Regions from separate parts of the Homo sapiens genome. Here regions 1, 2, 3, 5, 6 and 7 are each linked to region 4. The links are contacts of gene promoters, found by promoter capture Hi-C in blood cells and fetal thymus (Javierre and others, 2016). All regions are on one chromosome and are shown on one strand. The core of a region is centred on a gene start or on the middle of the fragment in contact, and the rest is flanking DNA. Distances in the headings are between cores, read along the strand shown. Region 1 has its middle 58 kb from the start of LRRC8B. Region 2 has its middle 17 kb from the start of LRRC8D. Region 3 overlaps LRRC8D (leucine rich repeat containing 8 VRAC subunit D). Region 4 holds the start of LRRC8C (leucine rich repeat containing 8 VRAC subunit C). Region 5 overlaps LRRC8D (leucine rich repeat containing 8 VRAC subunit D). Region 6 overlaps LRRC8D (leucine rich repeat containing 8 VRAC subunit D). Region 7 holds the start of LRRC8D (leucine rich repeat containing 8 VRAC subunit D).

Region 1 (3,920 bases), core at 794-3,293, 170 kb before region 4:
TTCTATACTGGCTATTTGTGATGTAGAACAATTCAGGTTTGATTCACCTGCACTAGCAATGCTATCTACATATACGAATGTGTTCTTAATACAAATCACTTTTACAGGGCAAGGACAATTTTTAAAATGTATTATTGAATTTTGAAAATGTTAATAATGTTAAAAAAAATTACTGAATTTGAAATCAGAATGCAGTTCAACTCTCAACTCTGCCATTAGCTCTATGACCTGAAAAAGTCAGTTCACCTCTCTAGGTCAGATTACTTATCCATGGAATGGCCCGCATAGTCCATTACAGATCTCCTGTGCTAGACTAATGCAGGCAGTGCTCTCCTAAGGAGATGGTGCTGTCCCAATACAGACACTGGGCTGATTCTAGAAAGAGAAGCCTTGACATTCACCAAGTGCCTCCTGTGAGCTGTGCACCACAGCTTCACTTCTGTGGCTTTGGTCAATATTCACAATACACAAGGTTGCATTATGACACATATTTTACAGCTGAGGAGACACATACCCAGAGAGCTCAAGTAACACACTCAAATTCATGCAGCACATGCTAGTTACAACTAGTTCTGTCTGACTTGAAATGTGGTCTGTGACACTGTAATCACTTACCTAAAGATTAAATAAGAGTGACTCACACTCTGACAACACTTTTCAGGTTGCAGACACTTCCACACTCATTAGTTAATTTAAACCCATCAAGAACCCCATGTCAAAGCCAAGGAATATGAAAAACAGGATCAGATATATTTCAGGAACCTGTCTAAGGTAACGCAGGAAATGACAGAGACGGTGGAAGTTGAATTCAGGTCTCTCTGATGCCATGCCCTTTCCAGTATGCCTCAGCACCCTACTCTACCACCACTAAAGGGATCTCGGAAAAATCACTTAATATCTTTAAACTTCAACTCCCTTTACTAGAAGCTCTTAATTATAATACCTGCCCCTGGCATCATCCTGAGGGTTAGGGAACTCATAGAAAGTATTTTGCAAGTGTTTATGAACATACAAATGACAGGGTGTTTCAGCTTTACTTGAGCAATGACCATTTGTGTTATCCAAATTGGCTTCTTCTTTAAAAGTTTAGACAGAACTATCAAAACAAATTGGGGACTAAATACCTCTGTGATGTACACTTCTATAAGGCCTGGCACAGGATGAAGGCTCAATAAACGTGTGTTTTCTATTTTTGGTAAGCAAAGAGGCTTTAATCAATAGCTGTCCAGAATGACAATTGTAGCAAATCCTGATCATGGATAACAGCATCTAGAATAATAGCCAGTCCATCAACTCATGTTAAAACCACAAAACCACATCCCTGCTGTGCTAGGGAAGCATCCTTTTGTCCTGAATGAAGTTCAGTATAATATCGAAACTTCTGTGAGAAGGATAAATCCAGAACAATTAAAAATAAAAATTATTGTGTTAGGACAGGTCACACAAGTAGTTTTCCTGGTGATACCTCTGTGATACTGGTAATGAAGATATTATGTGGTTAGTAGACACATCATCAACCACAAAGAAAGAGCTGTGTGCCATAGCAAACCGGCCATACCACTAAGCTTCTACTACCTGAATGCCCCTATCGTGTGGAGTCACGTGGAAATGTAACATGGGTTCTTTTTTGTTTGAGACTGACCTGGGTTTTATAAATCATTAAATTTTCTTTCAGAGCAATTGGATTAACTTTTGTTGTAAGTAAAATGCAACTTCTTTTGGTTTGTTTAGAACAATGTATGTATGGTATGTGGGAGGAGAAGAAGGAGAGGGGAGAAAAGGAGAAGCAGGAAGGGGAAGAAGATAAGCAAAAGGGAAATGAGATAAAAATGGCCATTGTGAAATAAATGTTTTAATTCAAGAGAAAGACAAAATATTTCTAAATTTTTTTTAACTTTTATTTTACGTTTCGGGGTACATGTGCAGTTTTATTATGTGGTAAATTGCCTATCACAGGGGTTTTATGTGCAGATTATTTCATCACCCAGGTGATAAGCATAGTACGTGATAAGTAGTTTTTTGATCCTCTCTCCTCCGGCTCTAAATTGTTATGTATGTAATAACAGAGCCTCAAAATAAATTCTCAACAAATTTCAAAGGGACAAAGTCATATAGAGTATATATTTGGCCACAATAAATTAAGAAATCAGTAATGAAAAGGAGCTTGAAATAAAAACACATATTTTAAATGACCCATGTGTTACAAGAAGTCATGATGAGAGTTAAAAAATATTTGAACCCTTCTTTGCAATGATAAATGGATATATCCTTCTTTATTTTGTACAAAAGTCTCTGTGTTTATTTTGTGGTTTCTAAAATGCTGGGCATACCTCTGCTTGGTTGAAAAAAAAAAAAACAGCATGGTACTTTCATACTGAGTGTAATTCTCTGCTTTATAGAAACAAATTCTGAAAATCAGGATTGAATCTCCATTTGCTTAACATTAATAACCTCCCGCTCTGTCTCAAGTTAGTTGGTGTTGGCTACAAGCCAGGTTTATATTTTAAAATAACAGTGGAAGAAAGCTTTGTACTGTGGTTATCAATTGCTGAAGGAAAAAAAAAGTCTTTTTAATGAAATTTTCTATATGCCAAGATAGGTGTTTATGAGTAAAGACAATATTGTAGTCAAAATAGTTTCTTAACCTGATATAGTATTGTTAGCTTGCTAGAATTAAAATAATTTTACTTTCAAGATGTTATACATTAACTAGCCCCAAAGGAACAACTTTAAAAAAATTTCCTTTAATGATAGATTTATTTGTTGACAATTTTTTATACTAGCATTGTAGTTCAATTTGATTATGAATTAATAACCTGTGTATTTAAAATAATCATAAATGTTGCTGAAGAATCACAGGTGGTACATTTAAAAAATGTTTCTGGCCGGGAGCGGTGGCTCACGCCTGTAATCCCAGCACTTTGGGAGGCCGAGGCGGGCGGATCATGAGGTCAGGAGATCAAGACCATCCTGGCTAACACGGTGAAACCCCGTCTCTACTAAAAATACAAAAAAAATTAGCTGGGCGTGGTGGCGGGCGCCTGTAGTCCCAGCTACTTGGGAGGCTGAGGCAGGAGAATGGCGTGAACCCAGGAGGCGGAGCTTGCAGTGAGCCGAGATAGCGCCACTGCACTCCAGCTTGGGTGACAGAGCGAGACTCCACCTCAAAAAAAAAAAAAAGATGTTTCTAAAGTGTTTTAATTAGACATTTTGAAATATGCAGGATCATTTCAACTTATTCAAGGTAATAGGAATGATTTAAATTCATATACATCCCCAAAGTTGCTTTTTCCTGATGAAGCCCTTGCCATGCACACATCCTGAAGTTGGAAGACAAAAGTTTAAGTCCTACTTCCACCATGCACTAGCTGAATGGTTAAACTCTGAGCATGCTTCCTTACTGATTGTATGAGTATAATGGTGATACCTAAAAGGTTTATTTTTTTATCAAATTCTGAAATGACTAATAAAACATTTTATGAATTATAAATATAAATTAGGACTGAATACTAATAAATGACAAAACAGACACGTTTGTTTCAAGTTCTAAAAGAAGTTATTGACATTAAAAAACAAAGAGAATACTCACATTGTACATTTCTCTGTGTTCTGTTACCATATTGAGAAAGCAAAGAAGAATATTTAGAACACTCAGTAAATGAAAGGCATGGTTTAACCTGGAATAACTGAATCTGTGAAATAATGAGGAGCTTCAAAAATTGTCTCCAGATTATTTCTCATGCTGACTCTAGCTGGAATATGTTAGTACAGTTTAGCAAAAAAAATTATGAATGCCCTGCCACATGAAGTTGACAGATAATGTTGTGTGTTAGAGAAACTATAAAGATGAATAAGGTAAAATTTCTGTCTTCAAGAGCAAAGAGTAATGAAGGTCTTAGTTATGCATTATCAGCTGGGAT
Region 2 (4,279 bases), core at 555-3,054, 170 kb after region 4:
TCTTAAACATCCCCTTCAATTTCCACAGCCTTTGCATAAACCAGCCCACATTTTAATTTTTATTCTCATAACCACGTTTTGAAGGTAGAAGATACTTTCTCTGTTTACAGTCCTGGAGGATTTACCCTAAATCACAGAGCTGATCAGTGGCTGAGCTGGGATTTGAATCTAGATTCTCTAACTTCAGCGGATTTCTGCAGAAAAGGCAGGTTTGTTTATGAAGGGGCTTATTATTTATGTCATAGATACTAGAGTTTGGTGGGCCTTGACCTGTTATAAAGTGTTTGGTTTCCTAATTACATAAGCAAGAGGATTTAAAATGCAGAAAGAGGCCCTTTCAGTGACAATCTCCTTTCTGGTCCTCTCTGACCCATCTCATGGGATATCACAAAGCAAGAAGCACCTCAGAAAGCAGAGAGGCCCATTTCGATGAGCTTGTTTGGGACAATGTGCAAAGAGGCCCTGATGCCCTTTGTGGAGAGGGAGCACTTAGGAAAGCTTGGACATGACTTTTCTGCTTCCTCACCTGGTGGAGTGGCGGCTTGGCAGCTGCATGGCTGTAAAACACCACTGTCTGGTCACTCTGCTTCTAATTGAATGCACATCACACTAAACATATTGTTTGCAGGAGTCTTAATTTTAAAAACAAGAGAAATGTGGGAGGAATGAGCCGGCTTGCTCCATCACTTTCCAACTCTCTGCACCTGTTCTTCCATGTGATTCTCATTGTCCTCCTCGAGGGACTCCTGTGTAGTCAGGGAGACCAGGCTAGGAAAGAAGTGGAGGGAGGCCCAGAGCTTCTTTTGTCTGTATTGTTTGGCAATCTGAGCTATCCCTTTCTGTTACACAGCTTGAACATGAGAGTTGTTTTTCAAAAGCCAGGGGAAATAGCACTGGACTACTGATATGGAAGTACCTCTGTTGATATGGAAGTACCTCTCCCATCAGCCCTCTAAATGCTTTTGAGATAAAGTGCCAGCTAGCTCCCATGGGGCATTTGCCTCAGTTGCTTACACAAGTCTAACAGAGATGGAAGGGATGGCTGTGAAATCAAAGTGAACAAGCCTATTTAAATCTTCATTACTCAGTCCCAGCAGCACCTACCAGAGCCCACAGCGCTAGCAATGGGCTCAGAGCATCTCACTGGGCTTCCAGCTGTGTTTTGTTTTTATTTTCAAATTATATGATGTGATGCCCTCAACCAGAGTTGAGGACCCAGTGACAAGGAGAGGCTGTCCTGCCACCGGTCCTGATGTTTAGTCTTTACTTGGCAGAGCACAGGGGCGTATGCTGGGTAAGCCGGTGCCAGATCTGTGAGCACCGTGGTCCAGCAGACAGAGAATTCCAAATCCAGAGAATCTAGATATTGGGAGTTTTTTGTATAATCACCCTGTTTTTGTAGCACTGGCCTCTTAAATCAATTAGGATATTGAATTTCTGAGTTGGCTATTTAAGTACATTACCAGAAAAACCTCTAAACAAAGCATGTACCTTAACCTGCCATTCTTACACAGTCTGAGGCCTTCTGATGATTTTCCCATTAACATAACACATTCCTAGAATTAAGGACGTGAGATAAACAGCAGGTCTAAAAAGAATTCCAGGCCGGGCACAGTGACTCATGCCTGTAATCCCAGAGATCTGGGAGGCCAAGGCAGGAGGATGGCTTGAGGCCAAGAGTTTGAGACCAGCCTGGGAAACATAGCAAGACCCCATCTCTACAAAAAATTTTAAAAATCACCCTGCTATACAGATGCATACCTGTAGTCCCAGATACTCAGGAGGCGGAAGCAAGAGGATAGCTTGAACCCAGGAACTAGAGGCTACAGTGAGCTATGAATGTGCTACTGCACTCCAGCGTCGGTGCTGGAGCAAGACCTTGTTCCTAAATAAATAAATAAAATTCCACAAAAGGTTCTAGGAATGAGGTTTTGATTAAATGAAAAATCATTTAACTTTTTTCCTTAGCTACTTTACCCATTAAGAGCTAGAATAAAATTGATTAGAGAAAAATAATAGCACCCATATATTGATGTCTTACTATGTGCCACGCCTTGTGTTAAGCCCTTTCATATATTTCTTATTTAATCGCCACAACAATGTCGACTTCTCTTCCTGTTAATGGAAATATGGCTTAGATTTACCTAAATTTACAGAAGCCACTAACTGGTGGGACTAGGAATAAAACTGACATAAGTCTGTGTTTAAAGCCCTTAATTTCCGTGCATCATTTGTAAAAAGATGACTGGAAGGGGTCTTTATTTTATTTTGAGACAGAGTCTCGCTCTGTCACCCAGGCTGGAGTACAATGGCGTGATCTCGGCTCACTGCAACCTCTGCCTCCCCAGTTCAAGCAATTCTCCTGCCTCAGCCTCCTCAGCAGCTGGAACTACAGGCATGTGCCACCATGCCCAACTAATTTTTGTATATTTAGTAGAGACAGGGTTTCACCATGTTGGCCAGGATGGTCTTGAACTCCTGACCTCAGCTGATCTGCCCGCTTCGGCATCCCAGAGTGCTGGGATTATCACAGGCATGAGCCACTGCAGTGGGCCAAGGTCTTTATTTTTGAACCTTGCATTTTCTATAGCACTTTGTAATTTTCAAAGTATTTTGTGAACAGTATCTTTTCTCGAATCTCTTAATAATTCTGTGAATAAGGCCGAAAAGGCCTCTTTCCCATTTTGCAGATGAAGAAACTAAGGCCCAGACAGGTTAAATGATTGACCAAGTTTCCAGAACTAGTAAATATTGGAACACCAATAAAAATGTAGGTCTTCTGACTCCTGTCCCAGTGTGAGATCCGTTCCTCTCACCACCTCTGCATATAAGCAAAGAACCATGTGCTGGAAGAGACTTGAGTGATCATGGAGTCTACAGATCTCATTTTTAATTTTCAGAAACTAAGATCCAGAATGGGGGCATTCCTTAACCAAGGTCACCCAATTATCCAATAACAGAACTGGCCCCAGAAATCAGACTCTCAATATTTGCCACTCTTTCAAAAAAAAAAAAAGAAGAAGAAGAAGAAGAAATTTGTAAGCAAAATCATCATCATTAAAAAGCATTTGAGGGAAACATTTTGCCAGTTGCTTTGGAATCATGAAAGAGGAAGCTTCAGGATGAAGCATCATTGGTTCCTGAGTTCTATCCTCAACCTGCACAGTATTTACCAAAAGATTTTGTTTCAATAATAAATTTGTTCATAAGTCATTAATATTATGCCTGTAAAGTCATAAAGTAATTTTTCCTCGGTGTTGATGTGTAACTTGCTATTAAAGATGTTTTTATGTAGGCTACAAGAGCCTTCAAAGCACAGTGTGTCTTGCATTAGAAACTTGAACTGTGCAGACAGAATGAGTCATTACAGCATCTGACACTAGAGGGCGCTCCGTGAGAAGGCTGGCTACACAAGCAGGAAGCCTCCTGGAGCAGCTGGAGACCAAAAAGGGAAGCCAAGAAGAGAAGAAATAAACAGTAAAAAGATACAGTATTATCAATGGATCCGATGTCACAAGCCACAGGATGGGCAATGAAAATGGCTGTGTCTGTGTGGGTCTCTGTATTTTGGTTTTGGTTTTGTTTTTGTTTTAATATAGCATTAGTCCAGAATAGGATTTTCATGTGGATACCATTAAATCCTCACAACCTTGAAAAGTAGGTATTATTAATCTCCACTTTATAGGTTAAGAAATCAAGGTTCAGTGAAATTAAGTGATGTGCCCAGGGTCATAAATGCAAAAGTAGTGTACTATTAACTCCTACCAATAGCATTTTCAAAGCAATAAGGCTTTGATTACTGAAGAGTATGTAATAACATCCTATTGTCTAATAAATGCCTTTCAATTGCAGAATTCCTTAGAATTTCTTTAGTTAAAACTGTTATTCCAAAATAAATAAATAAATAAATAAACTGTTATTCCACAACCTTGTCCTTCCATTCTAGCCAGCACAGTAATTTTTTTTTTGTCCATAAATATTTCATTCTGGATTCTCTTAAATGACTTTATTCCAACCTCACTTACTAGAAACATCCTCTTTTCTTCCTCCTCCTCTGAGACCACCTAACCTTCATGCCATAGGGTCTGCATTGACACCTCCTGTGGCCCTTACACCTCTCCTCTCTGATCCTGACTGTAGGGACTTCTTGAACCATAGTAGGTGCCAGATAAATACTGGCTGACAATGGTTCTCAAACCTTAATAGGCATCAGAATCACCAAGGGTGCTTGTCAAACTTGAAGATATTCAGAACTTACCCTAAGAAATTATGATTCTCA
Region 3 (4,367 bases), core at 1,643-4,142, 220 kb after region 4:
AGCAGCTAGACTCCCATCACTTATCATTTATGGGTTCTTCTGATGGCAGCGCTAATCCCAGAGCCTTTGGGAAGTTGACAGCATGAACAGCAGGACAGCTGTTAGATAACCGTACCCAGGTGTCTGCAGTTGTGTCTGTACCTGGCAATGGGAGAGGGGTAGCAAGTCAGAAAAGGGGAAGGACAGGAGCATGAATCTGTGATGGGATTTGCGTGTGGGGTAGACAGTTTGGATTTACCCTTTGCCCCTCCTGCTGAGTGCCACGGTTTCCTGAGGAATCACTGGTAGCAGATAATTTAGTCGTTTCATAAGAGAAGGTGATGCTCTTTGCATTCATCTCTATGTTGTTTCTCTCTCTCTCTCTCTGGTTGCATTTTCTTTTTTCTAGGCTCATTTCTCACTCTTTGTTAAAAGTGTAGTATTGTAGAAGAGAATCGAACAGTTGGAGAAGGATAAGTATTCAGAGGATCTTACCTTAAGAGTCCTTTCTCCTTTCCGTTTCCATCACTGCACCTTGAATGTCTTTGCCTATAGATTTTGAAGGATTTCATCACTCTTCTGAGTTGGCTGTATTCTTCCTCTGGAAGGTGTACTTATTCTTCAAAGCCATTTAACTGTCTGAGCCCCCTTTTAAGAACAGGGATAACATCTTAAAGCCCTCAAGGTGTGGTTAGCATTAAAAGGTGAATCCAGTCAGATGAGTGGCTCCAGAGATTATTGTAATAATTTAACAAGCCTAAGCAGGTGATAGGACACTCCTTTGTAAATTAAGCCTCTAATCTTTCTTTATGCTCATGCCGATTTGAGAGAAACCTGGGAATTTCCTTTTCCCCCATTAAGCTATTACACAACTTAATGCTTGGAAAATTCTTCACAGGAAGAAACAGGGTGTAACAGTTTTTGTGAGGCATCTTTTAAAAATGCACCCTTTTAGCTGAAGTCTGACTATACAATTGCCTCTCCACCTCTTTGCTCTAGTTTCTTTTTGAGAGTCTTAATTTCTCCACATAATTATATACTCTTCAAAGTGAAAATAGTTAAAAAATTAAAACCACTTAAACTGAAAGTTAAAACATTGTTCATAAATATGTTCTTCCATTTCCTGAGAAACAACAGGAAAGATTGCTTTCTCAAAATAAACTAAGTAGCCTGAGTATGAAGTCAGACCAATAGAGATCAAAGATTCACGCATCATCACACAATGGGAAATTTTTAGTCATTTTTCTAACCACAAAAATAAGTCTAATGCTAGTTCTGGGGGTTTGTTTTGTTGCCTGTGGCATCAAGATATGTATGTATAATTCAGAATGTACCTTTGGCATATTTGAAATTGTCTTAGCCTAATGTGACTATCTAGTGTGTCTGAAAGAGCCTATTTTCAAGATATATTTGATGAGTGTGAACATACTACATATACAGCAATGGAAAATAGCCTTCTTGGGCATTAAATTTAGGAAGAATGTAGAAAACCAGCTGACTTTTTTTATCTGTTTAGCATCTAGAATTAAAATTAAACTTGCTAGATCAGTAAATAATTGCATAGCTATGCTAGTAGCAAAAGTTTAGCAGCTCATGTTGAACACTGAACCATATTGAAAAAGGCATCTGCTACAGTAATCTCTCTCTCTCACACACACACACACTCTCAGGTAAGGATAACAGCATTTATTAATATTTCTCTATTTCCAGAAATAAGATATGAGAGGTTATTTTAAAGAAAGAAAGTAAATGCTCTTATGATTGGCAGATTTTTATTTGTGGGATACAAGCAAGATGAGGGAGCAGTATATGCCTGCAGTATTCATCTGTCATTAATTTGTGTCAAATAATGTGATTCTGTATTCCTCAAATGTTGTAAAATAGGTAAACATTTTGTCTTTCACAGAAAGATAGAAAATCAGATCTCCAAGCAGTTTACTGCTATGATCTTAGCTTCCTTTTCAAATCCCTTAGGTATTTTAAACCTAAGTCTTTATATTTAAAATGGGTCTCTTGTAGACGGTATATATTTGGGTCTTGTTTTCTTTATCTACTCTGACAATCTGTGTCTTTTAATTGGTGTGTTTAGGTAATTTACATGTAAAGTGGTTATTGATACAGTTGGATTAATATCCACCACGCTTGTAACTGTTTTCTATTCATTGCATATGCTCTGTTTCTCCCCCCACATTTACTGCCTACTGTGGTTTTAAGTTAACATTTCATATAATTCCATTTTATCTCCTCTTTGAGAATGTCAATTATACTTTCTTTTTAAAAAGGTTTTAGTGATTACCCTAGAGTTTATAATTGATTTTAGTTTCTTAAAACAAAAAAATACCCCAAAACATATGTATGTGTATGCGTAGAAAAAAATTTGAAGGCTTTTCAACAAGACATTAAGAGTAATTATCGGGGTCAGGCACGGTGGCTCATGCCTGTAATCTCAGCATTTTGGGAGGTGAGGCAGGTGGATCACCTGAGGTTGGGAGTTCAAGACCAGCCTGACCAACATGGAGAAACCCCGTCTCTACTAAAAAATAGAAAATTAGCCGGGTGTGGTGGCGCATGCCTGTAATCCCAGTTACTTGGAGGCTGAGGCAGGAGAATTGCTTGAACCTGGGAGATGGAGGTTGCGGTGAGCTGAGATCACACCATTGCATTCCAGCCTGGGCAACAAGAGCGAAACTCCATCTCAAAAAAAAAAAAAAAAAAAAAAGTAATTATCTCTGAGTGGAGATTATAGGTGATTTTGACTTTTTATAATTTTCTGTATTATCTGATTTTTAAAAAAAATAACAAGCAGGTATTTTATAATCAGAAACAAAGCTTTTTCCATTTTGGTGAGAAAGAAAGAGGTAAATCACAGCGAAATAAGCTGAAAATCTATGATTCTAAAATGTATACCCTCTCTCTGCTTCCACCTTGAGATAAGCACATTATCCCATAATTACTTGCACTCCACTAGTGGGAAAAAGGAAAGGGGTTTACTGCTTTTAAGCTTGCATTGGAAAGGTTGTCAGCCCCTGTCCTATACCTTCTGTGCCTACACAATGAAAATTGAATCCTCAGAATGACTTGGAATCAGTCTACCCTGTGGTTTGACATAAAGTTTTCTACATATGTAAAGTTAACCAGGCCCCACTATTTCTGCATTATTGAGGTTCTCCTCTAAGTAGAATGTCTTTTTGCTCTTCACTATCTTTCAAAAAATAATGAGTAGGATTAGAGCACTTGAAAACCACTTTAAGGTATAGCCTTTGCCAGGCAAGGTGGCACACGCCTGTAATCATAGCACTTTTGGAGGCTGAGGTGGGTGGATCACCTGAGGTCAGGAGTTCGAGACCAGCCTGGCCAACATGGTGAAACCCCGTCTCTACTAAAAATACAAAAATTAGCCGGGCGTGGTGGCAAGCACCTGTAGTCCCAGCTAGTCAGGAGGCTGAGGCAGGAGAATCACTTGGACCTGGGAGGCAGAGATTGCCGTGAGCAGAGATGTCACGCTACTGCACTCCAGCCTGAGCGACAAGAGTGAAACTCCATCTCAAAAAAAGTATAGCTTTTCATGACAACTTTGTAATACTTTTTTTGTTTGCTGTTATGAAATATCTCCTTTTGGGTGGGGTGGAGAGGGGATGTCAGGTAGTATCTGTGGTAATAGGTGAAGAGATGATAGCTAATGTGAGGCTGTTGGTCCATCTGGATTTCAGGGAACTCACCTCCCCACCTTGTGAAATATTAGAGAAAATTACCATTACTGTTCTCATGATGTTAATTATATCTTCTGAAGTTTTAGAGGTTTACATATAAACCAAACCCCAATTAAGGTTTAAGAAAGTGGCATGACTTAGTGCAAACAGATGAAATGTTGATTTCTTTAAAAGTTGTCTTAATACTAATGGATCTTACAGGTGTTTTCAAGAAAGTTATAAGTTTTGTAAGTATAATTTTAGTAAATAAAATTTTGTAAATATAATTTTAATTTTGGACTTTTTTTTTTTCCTTCCTTACTTGCTGCATCAAAGTGAACAAATGACAAGTGAAATTTTTTTGAGTCTTCTGAGAGAAGGAAGTTTATAAAAGCAGATGCCTTTTTCTGTACTTCCAGGTCAAAAATTGTAGGCCTCCATTTTAATATAGCTTATTGTTAGAACAAGGAAATTTCATTTAAGACAAGAAATGAAGTCATAGTTACATTCTGTTTAAAACTAATAGAATTAAACATTTTGACATAAATAAAACAATTAGAAAACTTTACAAAATAAATGTAAAAAGAATTCATTCACAATACACTGATTATTACAGCTATGTTAAAGTCTACAATTGAACACAAAATATAAACAATTGTTATTTAAGGGATTATAAGTAAATTTAATAAATTTTCTTTA
Region 4 (4,422 bases), core at 1,276-3,775:
CAGTACCCTCTCCTTCCTGGAGATGTGCTGAACTTCAAGCACATTTGCTTCAAAATGGTTTATTCTGGTTTGTGTGTATGCATGATTCCCATGAACTATGAACACCCTGAAGTCGGAGAATAAGCCTTGTACTTCTTTAAGACCCTCACTCAAGTTGACTGATTGCTAATTCTACCAGTCCTTTACAGAGAGCTTGCTAAGTGTGGATGTTAATGTGAATTAGGTGGACTGAGGTAAGATCACTAGATTTAAGGTTTACATGCTACAAAATAAGAAGAGGTGAACTAACCAGTGTAGCATAGTTTTTAGACTAGTGGCTTTCAAGCATTAATGTGCATGTGAATCACCTGCCTACACGTGAAGAACTACCCAGTTGATCCAATTAGAAGGCAGACACAAGAGTAGCCAAAAGTATTGCAATAAAGCAACTTGGGGTGGACTCAACTTGCAGGGGATTCAGATCCCAGGTTTCCAAACCTTTTTGCTATTCCTGGTTCTTTTGCTTTCAGTGAAGAGTAGTTAAGTACAATAGTAGCTCTCATTTACTGACTACTTACAAAGTGATTGGCACTGTTCTTGGTGCTTTGAGCATATTAGCTAATTCTCACAGCACCCTGTAGTACTATACCTATAGGGATGATAAGGGGATGTGGGTGGTGGGGAGGGGGCAGATAAAAAGAACAGTAAATTTCCTAAGTTTAAACTGGAAGAATAGGGATTTCATCCTGGTTCACCTGAGTACAAAGTCTAAGGTTCAATGATTCCTTGACACTGGGTAGCAAGGGAGCATTTCAGGGATGCCTAAGCTTGTGGTCAGGTGCCAACGGTACAAAGATAGAAGTATATCAGAGAGCCCTTGCAGAATAAGGCCCTCCACAGGAGGGTTGTGACCTTGGTACTTGCCTCACTGTGTTTAAATTCAGGTAAGGTAAGAGAATTGAAGAGGTAAAGCTACCTTAGAGAGTATTGCTGCATCTACCCTGGTGACTTACAAGGTACTTGAATTTTTTTTTTTCTAGCAAACTGCTAAAGTTAGCCTTTGCCTTTTTCCCAGAGACTCTCTAGGAATTTTTCCCATCTGCTGACTAGGAGGTAAGCCCGGACCTAAATTTTTGTCTTGTTGTAGGTTAATTAAGACTGGTGTTAGATTCAGCTCCTAAGGCCTAAGAGAATTTAAGGTTGTCTTCTGGGAAGGACACCCAACAGCAGCATTGGAATTGGAAAAAAAGTGTAGGATTTTGCTGAGTGAGCAGGGGGAAAGCAATGTAAAGCCCAAGAGAATATCTTTTGAACAAACGTCCTTTTCATTTTGGTTTAGAAATAGAAACGTGGTAAAAGGAGGCGACTGTTTTCTGAAGGCTTGTAGCACGAAAACAGGCCAACTGGCCAGCAACTAGTTGTCTATCAGTTTCTCTACTCACATACATCTGCCTTTTCCAGACTGCCAGCGCGGAGCACTAGTTTGACTTTGGGTGCTCTTCAAATAGCTGGCATTGATAAGGCATTCCCAGAAGACTGTGTTACTTAGTAATCTTGTCGGTACATTTTTTCACTGGGCAGAGATTTTCCAAACAGAGAGCTGCCAGCTTTCAAGACGTCAGAGTGCTTTTTCATCCTGAAATTGGGTGGGAAAATGGGGAGAAGAAAAGCACGGTTCAGATCAATCAATGAGAGAGAACCCCTCCCTCCATACTCGTTAAACAACAGGTGGTTTTGCTGTGCACCGTCAACTCCTTTATGCGGGAGCTGTAGGCGGGGCATTCCAACTGAGTCTCCCTGGAATCTGCCCCTTAGCCCGTATTGCAGGGGCGGTGCAGTTGGGGATTCCGGCCTGAAAGGAGACTTGGTTGTCAAGGGGCTCAAGGGCTTCATGATCCAAGGATATTGGGTTTTGCTTTTCTCCTTCTCCATCTTCCTCATTCTATCCCACCGTCCCCTCCCCACCCTTCTCTTAGGAGGCCTTCGCTTCTCCTGTGGAGGGGTTATCTTCATCCTGACCCTGGCCTTCGGAGGAGTTCCCAGAAGGGCTATTTTTAGTGGTGGCTGCTCCCCTCTAACTTACCCAGGGGAGGAGCTGCGGTGGCTGAGCCGACGCTGCGCGCACAGCCGCCTGTGGTTTTCCGCGCATTGTGAGGGATGAGGGGTGGAGGTGGTATTAGACGCAGCCGAATCCTCCCTCAGAGTCCGCCAGGTGGGCGTCTCAGGGGTGGGAGTGGCCGCGTCGTGAAGCGGAGAGAGGATTTCTCTCCTGGTCCTGGAGAAGGCCCCCGGCGGCCGGCGGCATCCCTCGCTGGCGAGTCCCGGGAGCGAGGTGGTCTCTGCAGGGGAGGAAGTTCCCGGGCGGCGCGGCCTGCGTCACAGCGGGGCTGGCACCGCGGAGTCGACTCGGCGGGCGGTGGCGACCCCGGGGCCGGGCGCTGGGCGGCGCTGGCTGCCGCTAGCCGGGCTGCGTGCGGGGCGGCGCTGGAGGCGGCTCCGTCCGCGGCCGGGGAGGCGGAGGGGAGGAGGGCTTGCGGGGCTGGGGCGTTAGCTGCGTCCCGGCTGGAAGCCCGCGAAGAGAAGTAGGAGGAAGGCGCCGCCGTGGCCGCGGCCGCAGTGCTCGGGCGCGACAAGCCATGAGCAGCGACCCCGCGGGCGACGCCGCCGTCCCTGGCAGCCGCTGAGCCCGACCCCCAGGCAGCTCGCCGCTCCCTAGCACCTTCTCCAGTCGACACTCTCGCGCCCGGAGGTAAGGGCGGGGGATCCGCGGAGGGATGGAGAGGGGCAGCCCGCAGAGGGCCACCCGCTCGGTCCGCTGTGCGCGCCGGACCGGGACTCGCCCCGCCTCACTCGCGTCCTTGCTTCCCCCCGGCTCTCAGACAGGCAGAATGTGGTTGCCCGCCCGGCGTGTGGTGCTGGGAACCTTCCGCTACTGCGGCTCAGGAGCCCGCCAACCCCTACCCCACCCAATCCGCGCTAGCCCGAGCGGCCGCGCGAGGATCTCAGCCTGGCGCCCAACGCCGCGCCGCAGCGGCAGGTCCTGCAGACTGGGCGCGGGGGTGGGGGGGCGGTCCGCGAGGGGAAATGCGTCCGTGGCCGGGGCGATCGTTGTTCTTTCCTACCTCGAAAATCTCTGAGACCCCGGGGCCAGTCCTTTCCGGTCTATCACCCCCCTGCCACCTCCGAACCCTTGAAGTTAGCACTTTTGGGCAGGGAAAGGAATTGGAAGGTTTCTCGAAGAAACGTGAGAGCACCGTGTGCTCACCTGCAGGACAGGAGGGAAGGGGTTCAGCTTGATCGGGCGGGCCCCAGAAGCCAGGTGTTTAGGCCAGCGGTTGAGGCCAAAACCGCTGCCTTCATCCCACGCCTAGGCTCGCTGATCTTTCCCTTTCCAGCTGGTTCCCACCAATGAGATGATTAGGGATGGAGTTAGCAACTCAGGAGCCTTAGATGTGTTCTGTGGACACGAATGCCTTTCTTTTCTCCCTCAGCCGGTTCTTCCCTCCCCAACCCCCACGCCTGCCCGGTATACAGCAAAGTCCAAACAGTTTCTTCCAAACCTCGCATCCTCCGTAGTTTTGCAACAGCCGGACACCTAGCCCGCATCCTAATGCGGATATTTCAGAGTATTACGGCTAAACTTCCCTTGGTTTCAAATTCCTTAAACATGTTAAAGCCTCAGCAAACGTTAGGAAACATTTTCAGGTTCCCATCCTCAAAGTAAAAAATAAGAACCAATCCATCTTTGTTGGAGTGCCGGTGTTTGGCACGGGGAGGCTTGAATTACCTCCATTTAAAGCAGCCTTTGAAGGAAGGAATAGGTAAAGGAAATCGCAGCCGTTTGTAAGTCACATACTTCTTTCGCGGTAGTGTGAGAAACGTAGCCTTAACCAACAGTCACATTTCCCGACAGGTATGTGATGGTTTCCCAAAGCATCGATGAGGCTTCAGCGTGGGCAGGTCATTAAGATGCCATTTAGACGAAAAAGGAGTAAAAGTGGAGTAGTCCTCTTGGTTAGCACAATGCTGCAAAATCGCCAGAGCCAATAATTTTTATACATTTATAAATTCTGTTTATTTTTAAATAATTTGTTGAAAACCCAAAACGTAATCTGAGCTGCATAAAACTCGCTCAATTCATAAACAATGTGTTGAGTGTGTAAACAAACATTAAATGTATACAGCTCTAGTCTAGGATATTTGCATTTCTTGTGACTTGCTTTAACAGGGAAGGCCAAGGCTATAATTGGTTTGCTTTACTCTGGAGTGATTAAGTTCTGTCTTGGGGTCAGTTTGTTTCCTTTGAGGGGGATGTAGGGCAGTTTTGCAAAGATGGATATTTGCCATGGTTCACATAATAGATTGGGCACAGACAGGACCCATCAACCCAACAATTGTATCAGAGATACCAAGTATATTTAACAATTTTCTTATTAATAAAAT
Region 5 (4,044 bases), core at 729-3,228, 240 kb after region 4:
TAAAAGTAAGAATAATGACTTAAGCAGTAATCCAAAAATGTTAAGAAGTTGGTGGAAGAAGAGGCTGGCTGAATTGATGAGTGAGAATGTTTATTCATAAATTCATTTAATTCTTAGTTCTACTGAGACTTTACCATGATTGTCATTGCAGTAGTTCCTATACAGTGGGAATATGTTCCTATAATGGGAATTTGAATCATTCAGTGTTGCTGATCTGGTTGTATCTGGACGAGGCAACTTCTCTTACCTGTTGTCTCATTATTTAGTGGGGGGAATATCTATCCCATCCTTACTTCTCAAGAATAATATGAGGATAAAAAAAACCTGTATAAAGCTACAAACCAATATTATTTTGTACAGGTTAAGTAGCCCGGTAGAATCTTTTGGAATTGATTGAAAATACAAATGCCTTTTTGACAGGCATTGCTGTTGGATTTTTTTTAACATGGGAGAAGTTTACTAGATTTCAAATTTTAAAATATGCATGGGATTGAAAGTTAGAAGCTCTGAAACATTTAACTATCTGGTCTTTACAAAATATCATAATAGGTGTCCATTAAATGTTCTTCATTCACTCATTCATTTATTTTATAGTTTTTGATCATTTGCTGAATGCCAAGCAGTGTTTTAGAAGCTAGATTATACAGTTGTGAATATAACAAAATCCTTATCCTTATGAAGACCATATAGTAGATGAGTCTGATAAGCATGTGTTTCATGGATATCTATTAGATATCCTTTAATAAGTGCTAATAACAAAATTAAGCAAGATAAAGAGATAGGGCAATGAGAGAAGGGGGTGTTACATGGTCAGAGAAAGCCTTTCATATACAACAGTGTAACTTCCACCTCTTTTAAGGTCTTCTTTATTTCTATATGTTGTCATCTGACACTGTACCCAACACATAGAAGGTGCTTATTAAATGTTTAAATGAAATTTTTATTTATTTAACAAACACTTATAGAGGACTTACTCTATGCCAAGCAGTGTTCTAAGTGCCTTGCAAATATTATTTTATTTGATTTTCACAAGAACGCTTTGTATACTGTTTCATTTTATGAGGAAACTGAGGCACCAGGATGTTGAGGAACTTCCGCAAGGTCACAGCTAATAATGAATGAATCAGTTTGTAAAGGAATTTAAAAAATAAAGATTCTTAAAGGTTCTTAGTGCCACCTCTTGCTTTCAGGAACACCAGATAGGGTGGGACTCCATATTTTGGGATCATGTTGGGTAGGGAGCATGTCAGCCCCTGAGGTCCTTTTGAAAAGCTCCTAATACCTCTACCTCCCAGGCCAGGCAGATACCACTCTTCTCCAGGCTTCCATCCACTCAGAGCTCTTTCCTGCTGGACCCGTTGGAAGCTTCGTCTGCTCTGCTGACACCTGGACTTTCCTGGGGCTGAGGTTAAGTGATAGCTTTTTCTCTGTGGTTGAGGAATTACAGCTACTAGAAAAGAATGTATCCTCTTCATCCATTCTCCTACCTACTATTTAAATGGCAAGTAGTGTTTTTATACTGTGGTCCACGGACCCCCAGGATTAAAACCACCGTGGGGCTCATTTACCATACAGATTCCTGGGCTCCACCTCAGACCCACTAAATCAGGCTTTGCAGATGGGGCCCAAAAATCTCTATTTTAAGCTTCTTAAAAACTACTGGGTTAGAGGATGTGCACTTCCCGTGTGAGGGGAAAGAGATGAAGAAAAGAGTTATATAAGACAGGTTTGTCTCCACAGAGAGTGCAGAGAGGTTCTGTAATTCTGATGGAATTCTTTCCCTGCCTGGTTAGAGCAGAGAGGTGGCAGGGTAGTGGGAGATCAGATATTAAGGGAAAATCCATGTGAAAACTCCAGAGTCATTTAGAATAAGGGTTAGTTAACCGTGGTCTACAGGACAGCTGCCTGTTTCTGCAATAAAGTTTCTTTGGAACATAGCCACATTCATTGGTTTATGCATTGTCTGTGGATGCTTTGCACTACACTGATAGAGTCGAGTAGTTGTTACAAAGACTATACTGCCTCCAAAGCCTAAAATATTTAGCATTCGGTCCTTTATAGACAAAGTTTGTTGGATAGCTTACCAAATAACTACATGAAGATTGAAAAGTTTCTATCTGCTCTCCAATTTGGTAGCCACTGGCCCTTGAAGTTTGGATAGTGAGCACATGAAGTGTGGAAAATGTGACCAGGTAACTGAAAGTTTCATATTATTTGGTTTTAATCAATTTTAAAAATTAATTTAAACCTCAATAGCCACATTTGGCTGATGGCTACCATGTTGGATAATGCAGAACTGCAGAACTAAAGTGAAGCTTTCAGATTGGGATTGGCTGTAAAATGTCAAATATGACAAGGGTCTGCTTTAGGCCTCTGGAAAGAGGGAGTCTAAGGAAAGGAACATCTAGATAGGATATATTTTAGAAGAAACTTCAAACAGTTCTTTCTCTCTCTCTCTCTTTTTTTTTTTTTAAATTTGTGTTTATTAAGAGTTACTTGTAGGGATCCAGTTCTGCCACTTACAGCTTTTTGACCTTGGTCAAGTTACTTAGCTTCTCTCTGCCTCAATTTCCTCATTGGCAAAACAAGGATAATAACAGTACCTTTTAAAATTTTTATGAGCTTTAAGTGTGTATGTGCTTTAAAAATACCTTGCACATAGTAAAAGCTTTGTGAGTGTTTGCTGTTCTTAATTATTGTTATTATTATTTCATGATTTTTTGTGGCCTAATCTAAGAAAATAATCCTTACATATTTGCCCCACTCCCCCTTTTCTGTTTTAAGGAAAGTGGATTCTGAATTTCAGAGTAATTTGTATATTAACCTGGCTAATGCAGCCTGTTCCTAAAACGTGGCTAATGCAGCCTGTTCCTAATTTAGGGACCAGCGGTGGTTCACCTCCTTCCACGCAGGTTTGTTACAGTTAACACGGTTGGGTCCAGCACGTGACATACATGGTATGGTATTGTCTAGGTTTTATTGATGGTCACTGTAAACTTTTATAGATAACTGAAACTCTTCAAAAATAAACTAGGCATTTTTATTTAGAAGCAGACTGTTTCTTAGTGTTAGTTCTTGTTCCTAAGCAGGAATCATAGTAATATTTGAAAGGAAGTATGTTTCTATTTTATCTTGAGACGTGTCAGAATCTCCTAACATGAGTATGCTTGGTGCCTTCCCTTTTATAGAAGCTGAGCAGGACTGGCAGGAACTGTTTGAGAGGTGCGAGTTCCCTTTGTTTGTGTAAATGATAGCAGTGATAGAAATTGAAAAATGAAAGAAAATTCAGAATCATGTCACTATGGGTTTTTAAAATCCAGTGGCTATTTCTTAACTCTTTCATCTTCAGTATTTTTTACTAATTAGTTCCATAGACTTGCAGTGGATAAACAATATCACTTAAAAACCTCCCAGAAGCCAGTGAGTGCAGCTTCTTGAAAATCTGCTTCTAAGTTTTCTGAGACAGCAGTGATGTGAAAATACTTTATAGTGCCTAGATCTGTTATCCAAGGCTCGAACAGCAGAGTGTTCAGCAGGTATTATGTGCTCAACAGTTGCTCATCAAGCTGCCTTTTTGACCTGTAAGATGGCATTGCCAACACCTGTTGATCAGTACATAATATGAGAAGAAAGCCCTTGGCTAGATGGCAAGAGGTATTTTCTTATGCAAGTAGTCCCATTCTCTAGGCCATATTGTTCTGTTGGTTGTCTTTTCTAATTCTGGATTGTGTTTGAATGTATCTGAGATGCATTGAACTTGCTTAGAGTTTCCATGGACTCATTGTACTTAGAGCAGAAGGAATGAGAACATGGTCAACTATTAATATCCTCTAGCTTGAAACTATCTACAGTCTGAAACTTTAGTCATCTTAGGGAAGGAGGATATGGAAGTATAGAAGTCTCTGATGAGGGCCATGTGCAGTGTCTCACGCCTGTAATCCCAGCACTTTGGGAGGCTGAGGCGGGTGGATCACCTGAGGTTAGGAGTTCGAGACCAGCCTGGACAACATGGTGAAACCCTGTCTCTACTAAAAATACAAAAAT
Region 6 (3,796 bases), core at 101-2,600, 200 kb after region 4:
CTTACTTAGTTCAGTCTTGGCATTTTAGGTTTAGAGGTGGTTACTACCCATTGGACATCCATAGCCACTCCCTGCAAATTAAAGGGGACACAAAAATGAAACTGAACTTCTGTTTTTCTTCACCTCTCTGCTAATTTAACTAAGTCAATTGGCTCGCCCTCATTTGCCCTCTTCACACCTCCCAAATTAATGTTATGTGCAAATTTGATTAAAACAGCGTGAGTAATTTCCAAGTTACTTTTGAATACGGATTGAATTCCGTTCCTTGTGGCTTTTTCTTCATCATACTAGTAGATGTAGCCAGTGTTTTTGTTTCTAGCCTGCTTAACTTGTGTGGTTCTTGGAACAACATAAGTTTTGGTTGATTTAGGATCCTGATTTCACAGGATACTGTATCAACTGCTTTACCAAGATCAAAGTACATGGGTTCACTGCATTCCTTTCAGTTGCTAATTCAGTTGTGCTGTAGCCAGGCAATCCTGGAGCCTTGAAATCCAGGATTCTGGTCAAGGTGAGGAAGCAGCCCTTCCTCCTGGCCTTTTCATTCTGCAAATACCTTTTCTTTCCTTCTTAATATTTATTTATTCAGCAATGTGGCCCAGGCTCTGCATCCCTGACTTCCTAAAGCTTTCAGCCTAGTGCCCCTAGACAAGTGGTTACATTCTTGCTACAAACTGGAAAGTCTCTGAGCCCCTCACCCCACTCCTCCCCACTTCTTTTCTTCTGCTGTATTTATGGCACTGTACCTCATGAACTTTCACACAAGGGAAAGCAAACTCAATCCAATTGGGTCTTATGGGTAAGAAAATGTGTTGGTTAAAGTAGATTCTGGTCAGCCAGGCTATCGAAGTTTTAGTATTTACTAGCAGTGTGACTTTGGGCAAATTACTTAACATCTCCATGTCCATGTCTCTTTTCTCATCTGTAATATGAAGATAACAATAACTCCTACCTCATAGGGTTGTTGTCAGGAATCATTGAAGTGTTAATACATGTAAAGTGCTTGGCATTTATTAAACTAGGGTTAGTTAAAAAATTGATGAATAAGCTATTAAAAGTTCATAATAAAGTTTCTGGAGTTTTCAGGTACTCCGTTTCTCTTTCGTGCTATTTGCCTTGGCTATTCCACTACAGGCAAAGGAAAGGAGATGAAATTTAAAGTATCTAATTTTGTAACCTTAAATTATTCATGAATTGTTTTTCTTCGTGTAGACTCCATTATAATGTATAATGGAGAATTGTATTCAAGATATGATGTGTGTGACTTATTCCTTATGAACTCTGAAAGTCATTTTTAAGAACACTTCTTAATAATGAACATTATATTTATTTGACTTTTTAGGATCCAACCCTTTTACATTGTTGGGCTTTTTAATATGTTATTTAAAAAACAAGATTGCCCAGGCCAGGCGTGGTGGCTCACGCCTGTAATCCCAGCACTTTGGGAGACCGAGGTGGGTGGATCATTTGAGTCCAGGAGTTTGAGACCAGCCTGGGCAACATGGCGAAACCCCTGTCCCTTAAAAAAAAAAAAAAGGGGGGAAAAAAGAAAAATTAGCTGGATGTGGCGAGCTCCTGTAGTCCCAGCTACTGGGGAGGCTAAGGTGGGAGGATTGGTTGAGCCTGAGAGAACAAGGCTACAGTGAGCTGAGACTGTGCCACTGCACTCCAGCCTGGGAAACAGAGTGAGACTCTGTCTCAAAAATAAAAATAAGATAAATAAGATTGCCCAAAGAGAATTAAAACAATGTTTCAAATAAGGAAGCAGATACTACCACAGAAGATTAACAGACAAAACATGCTTTCCAAAGAAGAATGAATTATAGGACAGTATTTCATCTATGTAATACACATCAAAATCAACAGTCATTAAATAATCCAAGGCTATTCATTCCTAGCAGTCTGTGCTGGGAGCATTTTGAACAGTCTTTTATACAGGTATTTGCATTTAGTCAGAATTTTGGGGGATCTTACCCTTCTTTCACAGTATTATGCCTAGTAAATCCCAGTACATCAACCATCATGTCCTACTTTACATGCATTTTTTTGCATACTAATTGAAGAATGAGAGAGGAAGCTTGGAAAAAATGTATTAAGATTTTGTTTATCACAGTTTGATCAGTGGATCAGTCTTATTATTTTATAAAATAATATCCAGCTGCAGCTCAAGTGCATATTTTACCTAATTTATATCTACTTATATTCCTATGGCTTAAAGTCAGTTGACCTATTACAAAATACATGTTTATCCTTTACACTTTACCAAAATCTGGCGAGGTGATGAGGGTGTATGATGCACTTGAGAGAGAGCATTACAAGTTATCTTTTTAAAGTGGGATTTTTTTTCTGAGCAAAAGATATGTAGTGCAGAATAATATATCCACAGCCAAAATGCACCCACTCATTTCTATTCAATTAAAAGAAGGAAGAACAGACCCAGGGTGAGTTTTCGTTCCATTACCTAAGGCTTTGAGAATATCACTTAACATCTGTGAGCCCTGCTGCTGCTTCTGTAACACATTAATAATGACACCTCCCTGCGAAGGTAGTTCTGAGAATTCATTGAGGCAGGGCCTGTGAGGGTTTGTCCTATGTAATGTTAGTAATTTTGTGCAAGGTGTGTGGGTTCATTGTGTGTGTTTGGAAGCTGAGGAAATTGGAGCACTGAGCTTAGAGAGATACCAGCTCAGGCCTGTAGCCACCCTGGCCCTACCTGCCTGGTGGTTGGATCTTCTAAGTCATGCTGTGGGGTGCTTTAAGTAGTGCTTTCCTTCTTGCTTTCTCAAAATCAGGAAACTATCTTACAGGCATATTTTTTTTTAAACATGATTTGCGACCCCTTGCTGCATTTTGTCATGTGAAATGACACTTACTCTGGTTCTTTAAAGATGGCTAATAATCCTCTATGGGTAAATGCCAATCAGGCCAGCCAGTTGGCTCTGCGAAAGGCTTCCTTGAAAGCCATGGTTCAGGTTTTGCAGAGACCAGGAAGTGAATGTGAGTGCCAGAGACCTCCTTCCCAGAAAATCCTGTTGCATGTGCTACCCCGGAGGTGAAGACAAGGTAGGGACACTGCTGTGAAGGCTGATAGTGCAGAGGGTCATCTCTTTGGCAACCAGACAGCTTGTCATTTTTTATTTTCTTGTTTGTAAAATCCATGTGTAATAATCACCAGGACTCCTGATATTCACACAGAGAATTGCTTGTGGCAAACATTTTTAACCGCCAAACTAAGATCTTTCTTAAGATGAAGAAAGATAAGCAGCATTGTTTTTTAGAGATGAGTTTATCATCTCCTCCTCCACACCCATTAGTCCTCAGAAAAGCTATTTCTTGAAACTGAATTTGGAGCTTCTAAAATGGCTTTCACAGTGTTGGTCTCTTCATCTGGGGATTATGGTACTTAGGGAGTGGAGACTTTCAAAGTGAACCTTCCACATTTTTCCAAAATCTTTTGTGGCATAATTTGTGCCTACCTGAGAGCGCATTTTTTCTTTTTATGAGGTTGTGATTTTAATATATATACATACACGTGCACACACACACGTGCGCATGCACACACACACACAAAAGCATAACAGCGGCTATGAGAAAGAAACACTTCTGCATGAAACACAGAAGGAGCGGGCGAATAGCTGACCAGGGGAAAGTATGAGATGGTGTTCAGGCCTCATGGTAGTTAGGATTAGGAAATGTCAGGGGCTGTGTTGTATTCTCCAAACTGTAAACTTTGGGAGTCGTACAGAGTGAATGTTAATAAATATTTTTGATAAGGAGGAGGGTTTGGGTTTATAGG
Region 7 (4,091 bases), core at 1,212-3,711, 190 kb after region 4:
AACAGCTTGTTATATATGCTTCCAGACTTCTTCTGAAGCATACATTTAATAACATGTATATCTTAATGCAAAAAAGTACAAAAAAATGGAATCATACTATTCATATTGTTCTGCAGCCTCCTTTTTTTTCACTTATAGATTTTGGACATCCTTCCATGTAGGTACAAATAGATCTAGCTTATTTTTGTTAATGGCTGCTTATGGTTTCCTTCTACAGATCTAGCAAAATTTGCTTAAACAGTTTCCTACTGGGACTTTATTATTTGATTTTTACACCATTACATGTTCCCACTATTACAAACAATGTTGCAATAAGACACGTATATATATATTTTTGTACATGTGTAAATATTTCTGACATAATTTTTGCACAAATATGCTTAAAGCACAAACTCTTAGACATGGACTTACCTATTCAAAGGGAACACACCTATTTATCAAAAATTTCCAAATTGTCCTCCAAAGGGGTTTGTCCAATTTCCTCTTACTTTTACAGTGTGTGAGTGTCTATTTCTCCACATTTGACTGTTTTCTGAATATCACTTTTTTCTTTTCTCGATTTATACCAATCTTAAAATCATGTTTTTCAAGTCTAGAATCACAATTTAAAACCCAGGGAAGATCAAAAGAACAAAGTACAGAAGATTGGTTTTTTTGGTTTTTTGGTTTTGAGATGGAGTCTCACTCTGTCGCCCAGGCTGGAGTGTGGTGGCACCATCTCAGCTCACTGCAACCTCCGCCTCCCAGGTTCAAGCGATTCTCCTGCCTCAGGCTCCTGAGTAGCTTGGATTACAGGTGCGTGCCAACATGCCCAGATAATTTTTGTGTCTTTAGTAGAGACGGGTTTTCACCATGTTGGTCAGGCTGGTCTCTAACTCCTGACCTCGTGATCCTCTTGCCTCGGCCTCCCAAGGTACCGGGACTACAGGCGTGAGCCACTGCACCCGGCCTATAATTTTTTTTTTTTTTTACAAACAGCAAAACATTCCATATTCATTATAATAGTGGGCTGTTTTCAATAAAAATATCACACCACTAGTTGTTAAGTTTTAAAAGACCTCTCATCTCTTAGATCAGCAAATCTGACACTGATTAGATCACTTACACACACTCCCTGCCCATACACCTCCTTCTTGGCAGTGTGTGGAACAGGAGTGGCTGCTGGCAAGGAGGGTCGGGGAAGGAAAGTGAGAGCAAAAGGGCCGAGGGCTCAGAATCTGGTGGCATCTTGTAACGGGTCTCGGGCAGTCCCTTGAGTGTATTCTGGACCTCTCTGTTCATGTTCCTGTTTGGGCTGCTCTTCTTCACGTCCAATGCCTGAGGGCCAAGTGCTCACCATCCAAGGGTCAATTCTATCAGCTCCTCTCTGAATCCTTTTCTGAAACCCTGGACAATCATTCTCTTTAATGTCTCACTGTCTCTGAACCGACACCTTCCTGAGTACCTGTAACATTTGTGCAGCATGCTTATTAAGAATATTTAGATGCTGGGTAAACGTTGATTGAACATTTGCTGACATGGAGAGATATTGGTAGAAGACAGATTAGACTTCCGATGGTTTACAGAAACACATGGATTCAGATAAAAGAAGATATGAAAGCACTGGGTTGAACCACATATTTTATTACAACCAAATAACTCCAAATATCCCGCCTTAATTTATTTATTGGCCCCTGCCTCTGCTCACCCACAAAAAAGACTGCAAATGAACCCCGATCCTACAACAACAACAACAAAAAACGGTGACATTATCGGGCTGCAAAACCCTCTTAGCATAGAATAATCTTTTCATCTGCCTCTTTCAGATGTAACATATTTTTGACGAAAAGAATGGGATGAAAACGGCGGGCTCAGATAAAAACAAGAACCGACTTTCCAATACAGCTTCAATAACAGACGGAACACATGAAGCTGAGAAACTCTCCATGCCAAGTAGTAGTTGTGTGTGCCCCAAAGCTCAGATAAGTACTTCTCCTTAGAGTTGGAAGGCACTTAAGTGACTTTTTAACGTAATTCAACTCCCCACCCCCAGCGCCAAGTCTTAATATCAGAGTTTTAGTCGACGGGACAGCCTCCTTCGCCCAGGACGGGTGAAGGCTCCTGACCATGCCTCGCAGCTAACTGGCAGCTGCGCCTGCCCGGCACCGAGCCCTGCCCAGGTGGACGCTTGCGAGAGCATTACGGCGATGGTTATGTAGGCTGCCGTTCTTCCCCTCCCAAGCACCTGCTCCGCATCTAGCAGTCGCTCGCCGCCAGTCTCCAACCCCGGGTCCCCTCCCTCGCCACACAGACCCCGTCCGGTCAGGCGCTGCAGGGCCACCGGAGAAAGCGCTCGCAATCACATGGAGGCCCGGGCCCGCCCCATTGGCTGCGGCCGGGCCAGTCGCGGCACTCGCCGGCTGCGGTTGGTCCCAGAGCTGCAGCGCCTGCACGGGCCCGGAGTCCATGTTACGCTTTGTCTAATTCCCCTCGTTACAGAGTCATGTGCTGCTGCTCCCGTCGCCGCTGCTGCCGCTGCCGCTGCCGCCGCCCGTGGTGCCCCGGCTCCTCCGCCGCGCTTCGAGGTGGCAGCCGCGGGCGGGGCCGCGGGAGCAGGGTCCAGGGTGCAGCGCGCCTTCGCCGCCCCGGCGCGTCCCGGTGCAGCCGCCGCCCGCCGCGGGTGATGCCGCCACCTCCGGCCTCAGCATAAGCCGTGGCTTGGCGGCCGAGCTGCACCCCAAGGTTGGTGCGCACCTCTCCCGGCAGGGGCCGGGGGCTGCGAGGGAAGGCGACGCGCAGGTGGAGCCGCGCCGAGCCGGAGCGCGCAACCCTGGCGCAGGCGCCGCGGCCCGAGCTGCGGTTGCGGCCGGGAACTCATTCGGGGACGTCCGGGGGTCGGGAGGAGGTGGCGGCGAGCGGAGTGGGCTCCCGTTTGCTGCCGCCAGGGCCTGGGAGATTGTTCCGCTTTCTGCAGTCTGAGCGTCGGCCGCTTCGGCCCCGGGCGGCCGGCCCTGCGGGAGGGGAGTGCGGCTTCCTGGCTCCTGAACCCCTCGCGCGCGCTCCCTTCTCTCACCTCCCTCCGCCCTATCGGAAAGGCGGGGAGAGCCGGTTTCGGCTCTGCTGGTTCCTCCCGGAGGTGGGTGTTTGGTGTCTGGCCTTGCTGGCCCGGCGTCCAAAGGTGAGCCCTTTAACTTCTCCAGAATCGCCTCCCCTCCGCTTCCTTCCTGTGCAGGGTGGGCTGCGCTGGGAGCCCGGCGGGCGGGGGCGGGGAGGTGAAGGCCCGCGCCCCGCCCCCCGCGCCTGTGGGAGGGAGCTGGGGGCCCGCAGGTGCACCCAGCCGTCCGCGGGCCGTCTCCGGGTTGGGTACCGGTATAATCCGCTTCTAGCTTGTTTGGAGGCGTGGGCTCTTGGGAGCGGGACTTCTGCTCAAATCCTGTCCAGGGGCTTGAAAAGGAGGAGAATTGGGGGTGGTTGCCGGGAGGACCAGCACCTCCAGTTACTGGAGGGTTGATAGGGGCCTTCTCCTTTCCGTCACCCTTTACTAGGGGGTATCCCTTGCAGATAAATGAGATTTTTTGATTTCTTAAAAAGCCAGCTGCAGTGAAGAAGAACTGCTGCAGGTCGAGGGGAAGAGAGGTAGGTCCTTGCTGGAGAGGGAGAGGTGGGCTGTGAGGTTCCAGGAGCACGCACTTGGGGTGTGTGTGGCCGAAAGTATGGAGGTAGGGTTGTGGGAAGGAAACAGCCGAGATGAGAGGGAGGGCGCACTCAGGATGTAGGCGGAGAGATGGGGAATAGGTACTGGGGAGTCCTAGCGGAATGTGGGGCCCAGCTGGAGCCGCTTGGCTTATATTTGGCTCCTCGTTGCCTCGCAGATTTCCTGCTCTTGGATCTTCAAAAATATTTTTTTGTTGGACAAAGAAAACTCTGAGGACATATTTTGGAAGAGCTGATTTCTGGAAACTTTCCTTGGCAGCTTTGATAGTAAAATTCCGTACAGGCAGCGTTTATTGAGCACCTATTACGTGGTTTGTACCGGACTTTGGAAGAGTCTGGACAGGCAGGGAATCCCCGTTTGCAGTAATGATGAGGGCTGTCTACCTTATAAACAAATA

Evidence for each region. Contacts are between HindIII fragments. The CHiCAGO score rates a contact against its expected background, and 5 or more counts as called.
Region 1: a contact is called between a fragment that was not itself captured here and the fragment with the promoter of LRRC8C in region 4, in 8 of 17 cell types (activated CD4 T cells, megakaryocytes, M1 macrophages and 5 more). The highest score is 8.1, in activated CD4 T cells.
Region 2: a contact is called between a fragment that was not itself captured here and the fragment with the promoter of LRRC8C in region 4, in 11 of 17 cell types (total CD8 T cells, activated CD4 T cells, monocytes and 8 more). The highest score is 9.1, in total CD8 T cells.
Region 3: a fragment that was not itself captured here is called in contact with the fragment with the promoter of LRRC8C in region 4 in 1 of 17 cell types (total CD8 T cells); the score reaches 5.7 in total CD8 T cells.
Region 5: a fragment that was not itself captured here is called in contact with the fragment with the promoter of LRRC8C in region 4 in 2 of 17 cell types (non-activated CD4 T cells and activated CD4 T cells); the score reaches 5.1 in non-activated CD4 T cells.
Region 6: a fragment that was not itself captured here is called in contact with the fragment with the promoter of LRRC8C in region 4 in 3 of 17 cell types (non-activated CD4 T cells, monocytes and naive CD8 T cells); the score reaches 5.5 in non-activated CD4 T cells.
Region 7: a contact is called between the fragment with the promoter of LRRC8D here and the fragment with the promoter of LRRC8C in region 4, in 8 of 17 cell types (monocytes, total CD8 T cells, naive CD8 T cells and 5 more). The highest score is 7.8, in monocytes.

Annotation. Positions count from the first base shown.
Region 1 is chr1:89,464,957-89,468,876 of GRCh38, forward strand. No RefSeq gene overlaps it. Among named protein-coding and RNA genes, the nearest start is that of LRRC8B, 58 kb to the right of the region's middle. The HindIII fragment of the contact is 960 bases long and covers 1,564-2,523 here.
Region 2 is chr1:89,801,455-89,805,733 of GRCh38, forward strand. No RefSeq gene overlaps it. Among named protein-coding and RNA genes, the nearest start is that of LRRC8D, 17 kb to the right of the region's middle. RefSeq lists an enhancer at 624-1,125. The HindIII fragment of the contact is 2,617 bases long and covers 497-3,113 here.
Region 3 is chr1:89,854,707-89,859,073 of GRCh38, forward strand. All of the region lies in intron 2 of LRRC8D (leucine rich repeat containing 8 VRAC subunit D), which reads left to right. Among named protein-coding and RNA genes, the nearest start is that of LRRC8D-DT, 35 kb to the left of the region's middle. The HindIII fragment of the contact is 172 bases long and covers 2,807-2,978 here.
Region 4 is chr1:89,630,595-89,635,016 of GRCh38, forward strand. LRRC8C (leucine rich repeat containing 8 VRAC subunit C) reads left to right here and starts at 2,526. Exons shown (of 3, transcript NM_032270.5): 1 at 2,526-2,728. LRRC8C-DT (LRRC8C divergent transcript) reads right to left here and starts at 2,300. Exons shown (of 3, transcript NR_033981.1): 1 at 2,063-2,300; 2 at 1,422-1,615. RefSeq lists a silencer at 2,328-2,987 and enhancers at 3,368-3,417, 3,448-3,497. The HindIII fragment of the contact is 6,667 bases long and covers 805-4,422 here.
Region 5 is chr1:89,874,774-89,878,817 of GRCh38, forward strand. The region is part of intron 2 of LRRC8D (leucine rich repeat containing 8 VRAC subunit D); the gene reads left to right. Among named protein-coding and RNA genes, the nearest start is that of LRRC8D-DT, 55 kb to the left of the region's middle. The HindIII fragment of the contact is 670 bases long and covers 1,644-2,313 here.
Region 6 is chr1:89,836,675-89,840,470 of GRCh38, forward strand. The region is part of intron 1 of LRRC8D (leucine rich repeat containing 8 VRAC subunit D); the gene reads left to right. Among named protein-coding and RNA genes, the nearest start is that of LRRC8D-DT, 17 kb to the left of the region's middle. The HindIII fragment of the contact is 1,450 bases long and covers 626-2,075 here.
Region 7 is chr1:89,818,571-89,822,661 of GRCh38, forward strand. LRRC8D (leucine rich repeat containing 8 VRAC subunit D) reads left to right here and starts at 2,462. Exons shown (of 3, transcript NM_001134479.2): 1 at 2,462-2,721. LRRC8D-DT (LRRC8D divergent transcript) reads right to left here and starts at 3,224. Exons shown (of 1, transcript NR_185885.1): 1 at 1,604-3,224. RefSeq lists silencers at 1,991-2,050, 2,491-2,840, 2,941-3,040, 3,131-3,340, 3,212-3,431. The HindIII fragment of the contact is 10,555 bases long and covers 1-4,091 here.